2 separate regions of the Homo sapiens genome follow, and region 2 is linked to region 1. Evidence: promoter capture Hi-C in human tissues and cell types (Jung and others, 2019). All regions are on one chromosome and are shown on one strand. The core of a region is centred on a gene start or on the middle of the fragment in contact, and the rest is flanking DNA. Distances in the headings are between cores, read along the strand shown. Region 1 overlaps RER1 (retention in endoplasmic reticulum sorting receptor 1). Region 2 holds the start of MMEL1 (membrane metalloendopeptidase like 1).

What was found. Contacts are between HindIII fragments. The study calls those that stand out against the background at their distance.
Region 2: a contact is called between the fragment with the promoter of MMEL1 here and a fragment that was not itself captured in region 1, in 2 of the 25 tissues and cell types used here (dorsolateral prefrontal cortex and lymphoblastoid cells).

Annotation. Positions count from the first base shown.
Region 1 is chr1:2,397,523-2,400,222 of GRCh38, reverse strand. It overlaps RER1 (retention in endoplasmic reticulum sorting receptor 1), which reads right to left. Exons shown (of 7, transcript NM_007033.5): 4 at 709-808. Among named protein-coding and RNA genes, the nearest start is that of RER1, 7.0 kb to the right of the region's middle. The HindIII fragment of the contact is 8,492 bases long and covers 1-2,700 here.
Region 2 is chr1:2,631,596-2,634,295 of GRCh38, reverse strand. It overlaps MMEL1 (membrane metalloendopeptidase like 1), which reads left to right and starts at 1,280. Exons shown (of 24, transcript NM_033467.4): 1 at 1,280-1,430. MMEL1-AS1 (MMEL1 antisense RNA 1) reads right to left here. Exons shown (of 3, transcript NR_183343.1): 2 at 1,621-1,794. The HindIII fragment of the contact is 11,446 bases long and covers 1-2,700 here.

The DNA of each region.
Region 1 (2,700 bases), core at 201-2,700:
CAGGTTCCCCCAGAACGAGGAGGGTCCTGGCAGGGAGCTGCGTGTGGGTTTTCCCTCAATGGCCACCACGTCCTGGAATGCAGTTGTTTGTTCCTCGCCTGGGGCTGGCCAGTCAGGCATGAACTCAGGGCCCCTACCTGGCCCAGGCAGGCCCAGGAGCTGCGTAAGTCTTCCAATAGTGGAGCACGAAGCACCAGGAACACTTCAGCTCACAGCTCCTCAGAAACCAGAGAAGGCCGCCCAAAGCCTGACCCGACCCGATGCTGGCATTAGAGTCCCGGCGGTCTCTGTGCACCACAGTGAGCTGCCTGTGGAACCCTCTGGCTACGGGAAAAGGTAACCTCGTCATGGCTGCCTCCGCTGATTCTGAGAGGGACCACTGACTGGGGTGGGACGGGGGCTGGAGTCGGACTGTCCACCTCAGACCCCTACTGTCTGTGGTGCCATGTGACCTCGAACACGTTACCTAACCCTGTATGCCTCAGTTTCCTCATCTGCAAAGTGGGAAAACAGAATGAACACCCACTTCGTGGCTGTCAGGAGGGTTTGAAGAGTCATTCTACAAACATATCCTGATCACCCAACATTACAAGTACATTTCAACCCCAAGAGAAGAGTCTCGGGTGTTTCCAGAGAACACTGGGCAATCCCATCAGAAAAGAAAGGCCCAACCTGCCCACACAGCCCAGTGCACAGCCGCTACCCTACCTGAGTCTTCCATTAAGGAAGGATCCACTTTGGGAGAAAGAAAAGCTATGAAAAGATTTAGATGGTAGATCCCCAAGGCATAGGTCACAATGTACCAACCCTGAAAGAGAAGGAAAGAGAGTCAGTGGTGCACTCTGACCGTCCATCAGCCTGAGCCAGTTCACGTTTGCACTCCGGTTCACTCTCAACTTTGTTAACTGATCTAACTTTGTTTTAACACAAAACTTACTCATAGCAAGGACAAGGAAATACAGTGAAATCCCATGGTAACAATTTATCTCAAATTATACTCTGTGGGAACAGAGACAAAGCGGACAAGCAAGGGCCCAAATGAGCAAAGCTCTTCAAGGGTCCAGTTAGACACATGTGATCCCTGAAGCCACAGACGCCCCACAAGGAGCGCAGCAGAAAAGGAGGCTTTTCTCAAGAAGCACATGCTCAAGCTACACCACAGGCTCGGGTGGCCCGGGCACCTGAGCGATGCTGGCCCAGAGCCCCACCCAGGAGCAGCTTCATCAGAAACAGAAGACAGACTCTCAACTGTGACTGGAGGCGTGCTGGCTGATGTTCCTCCAACAGACAATTCACATTGCCAAAAACACTCTGCCAGGAGGGTTAAACCTTTGCCCAGAAGAAATCCACAACTGGGAAATCCAGAAAAGTGTGCTTATGCCAAGCCTTCCTCAAGAGATGAAAAGTGGGGAGAATTTTGGCAAGATGCCTGAGTGCAGCACACTTATTTGCAACTAATTCATTTTTTAAAATGATTAAGCATATCCCGTTAAAAGCCAGAACCGCATTCTCAATTTCAAAAGCCTTAAATTTCTGTCGGGTGTGGTGGCTCACGCCTGCAATCCCAGCACTTTGGGAGGCCAAGGCGGGTGGATCACCTGAGGTCAGGAGTTCAAGACCAGCCTGGCCAACATGGTGAAACCTCGTCTCTACTAAAAATACAAAAATTAGCCAGGCATGGTGGCACATGCCTGTGATCCCAGCTGCTCGGGAAGCTGAAGTAAGAGAATCACTTGAACCCAGGAGGTGGAGGTTGCAGTGAGCCAAGATCAGGCCACTGCACTCCAGCCTGGGCGACAGAGTGAGACCCCATCTCAAAACAATAAATAAAAATATAAATGCTTTAACTTTCTTATACAAACAAGAAGTCTTTCTGCCTAAAAGCTTTTCCAGTCAGACGGCTGAACGCCAGATGTGAGGGCTAACTGATGTCTGTGTGTCCATCCCTGGCTGAACGCCGGATGTGAGGGCTAACTGATGTCTGTGTGTCCATCCTCGGCTGAACGCCGGATGTGAGGGCTAACTGATGTCTGTGTGTCCATCCTCGGCTGCAGGGCCACACCTGAAGAGACGCCAAATGAGGCACGAGCTTGGTTTCGAACGCAATAAAACTGACCTGTGGGTGCTGCACTCTTCCCGCCCCCTGCTCCTGCCTGAAGTCCCTGATTCAAGATTTCTAGGTCATTCTTTCCATCAGAGAATGGACCCAGTTCCAATTTAAAAACAAAAATAAATAAATAAATTAAGGTGTGTGCTTTAAACAAGGAAGTATCTTCTACAGTCCCCAGAGGAGAAAATAGCCCAGACAAGGCTTTCAACATGCCCTGCTCTGCACATAAGATTATGTAACCTCCTCTAAAGACCGACGAAGAATTCCCATCTTACAGGTTTGCTCCTAGAAACCCCGTGTTTACCAGCAAGTAAAGGAGCACCCAGGTGAAGTCTGAGACGACATCACCTGACCTAGGGGTGCCCGAAAACACACGAAGGAAACCCTCAAGACCCCCTTCGGTCACTGTCTCTCTTACTTGACTCGGCGTCTCAACCTGCACTGTGCTTTGGCCTCACACAAGGGAGAGCTCAGGAAAAGCTACATAAACCCTTTGGACGCCGAGTCATTCATGACACCCAAGGCATGGACTCTTCACCCAAGGAATGAGGCAGCCACAGAGCGCAACCTTGTCCTGAGCATCATGCAGC
Region 2 (2,700 bases), core at 31-2,530, 230 kb before region 1:
CTGCATCTGTTTCTCCCTCTGTGGATTTGTACCTTAGAGACAAGAACACTGTGACATCCAGAAAGGGCCTGCTGGCACCAGGGCTGTCGGGCAGGTGGGCTCGGAAAGGCTCTGGCCTCTCCCCATAGCAGGAGCCTCCAGCCAGGCTGGACCCTGGCCCACTCCCAGCTCCCCAGAAAGGGCGGTCCCAGCTTCCTGCTTGGCTGGCCTTGACATTGTTTCCATTTGGGCCAGCAACCCAGGCAGCCTGAGGCCAGACTGCAGCTCCTGGGCTGGTTGCTGGGCGTGATGGCAGGGGGCTGCTAGGACAGCCAGCGGGCCCCAGGGAGAGACTTCCCGGGCTCAGGGTGGTGTCTGGGATCTGATCCCAGCCTGGCTGCAGCTCGAAGCCTTTCTCCTCCCAGGGCCTGGCCAACCTAAAGGGCCATAGACAAAGCTTCCAACAGCACTCAGCGTGGGAGACCTGGCCGGGGCGGCCGTGAGGAGCAGTTTGCCGTGGGACCCCTAGCTCTGTGGCCCAGCCCTGCCCAGATGCCCTGACACATGCCCAAGGCCTGGGCAGGAGGACTCGTTCTGGGGATTCTGAAACAGAAGCTAGAAACCTCATCAGGCCTGGAGAATCAGACAGAGACTGCTCTGCCCAGAACCCCCGTCCGCAAGCAGGGCTGGGTGCAGGGCTCACACTCTGATCACTGCGAACCCTTCAGAAGCCACAGAGCCCTTCTGCCAGCTCCCCGGCCAGGGCTGCCCACCCTCTGTAGCTTGAGGTCTGAACCTCATGAGTTTTCTGTGGGCAGAGGGAAGCAGCCAAACCCAGGCTAGTATCTCTGGGTGGGACCCTCCTGGCAGCCAGCGCCCACCCCCTTCAGGACCACCCCTTCCCCTTGCACCTTGGCAAGATCCCCAGAACCCACCATCCTCCTTGGAGATTGAAGAGAAAGAACACCCAGGGTGGGGCCTTTGTAACCCCCCACCGGGTGGTTAGGGGCAGAGCAGAGGGTGTGGAGTAGGACAAGGGCCTGACCTTCCTCCCAGCAGCCCCTGGGGCCCCTTTGGACTGAAAGGTCAGGAGACAGAAGCAAGGAAGGAGGGCGGCTTGGGAGGCGGGGCCAGAGGCCCTGAGAAGGGCACCCATGAGGCAGGGCAGCCCGGGTGCCAAGAAGCTGCCCTCAGCCCCTCCCCCCATGCCACACCCCCAGTGGAACCTCCTGACTGTGAGCAGGAGTCACCGCCTCCAGGGAGCCCATGCCTGCATCACAAAGGAGGCCCAGAAGCCTTCAGGCAGCCTCAACTCAGCCCCAAGCCACTGCTCTCCCATCCCAGTCCCTGGAAATCCACCCACTTGGCCCAGCTCACCCCAACTCCAACCCACTGGGACCCAGTCTCCAGGGGCCTGACTGTGGGCGGCAGCCACTCCTGAGTGAGCAAAGGTGAGTTGTGCTGAAGGAAGGTACCCGGCCTGCTTTCCTGGGCCTTGAAACCCTCTCCAGGCCCTCTCCTGGGCCTTGAAACCCTCTCCAGGCGCTCAGCCCCTTTCTCAGGAGGCTGGGCAGGGCGTCCTGTGTGCAGTCTCGCCTGTGCCAGGGCAGGCAGCCCCCTCTGGCATACGGTTTATCTTACCCAAAGGACCCGCTGTCCCCCATCTGTAGTAACCTGGAGAGGCCACGAGTGTCCCCAGGGAGCCGCAGTGCCTTCGCCTCAGCAGACACTCCACACCTGCCCCGGGTACTTGGCTCAATTTGAAGGTGTTTATTTTGTGTGTGCCGTGGGGCACATGGAGCCGTCTGTGGATACCTGCAGGACAGAATGAATTCAGGACGCAGGAGCAGATTCATTAATTCTGACCAAAGAAAGAAGTTCGTGGAAGCTGAGCTCAGACTTGTCCAAATGATTGATCCATTCATTCATCATTCATTCATTCATTCACCCAACAGATAATGACCGAGGTCTCTGGGGTGGGGGTGCCAGTCTAGGTGAAGCGGCCCCCACAGAGGGTGCCCCTGCCCGTGGAGCTGACGTTCCCAGGGGGCTGCAGAAGTATCGAGGAGATGTGGAGGTGGAGCTGGGAGTCCCTGGAGAGACACAGAGCAGGGGAGGGGCTGGGGCTCCCCGAGTTGAACCCGAGGCCGAGCCAAGGAAGGCCCCACTGGGAAGGGGAGCTTGGCAGGAATCTGGGAGGCCTGCCTGGGTGGGTGGGGAGGGTGGGGGGAGAAACCTGGTGGGCCTGCCTGAGGGTAAGGGGAGGGCATAGTGAGAGGGGAGGAGGGCCAAAGAGGGTCCTGACATCAGGGCAAGGCCCGGCTCTTCCTCCAAGGGTTTGGCTACCAGGGGCCAGGGAGTGACGGCCTCTGATTCTAGTTACAGGCCCCTGGGCCCCTGTGGTGGGGATCAGTGGGTGAGACAGACCCCTCAGGGGGAGGTGATTGGTGGGGCCTGGAACAGGCAGCGAGTGGCAGGAATGAGAAAGGGTCCGACTGAGATGGGCTTGGAGGCTGAGGACTGGCGCGGGGTGTGGACGCAGGCAAGGGAGGCAGATGGCTCCAAAGTCCAGCTTCAGCCAGTGGCGGGATAGGGGTGTCTAGGGGCACAGCAGAGGGCGTCAAAGGAAGCATCTGAGGGTGTGTGGATGCATGAACGCTGCGGTTCACAGAGCCAGGGACTGAGAGAGGTGGCTGAGGGGACAGGAAGGGAGGAGCGAGG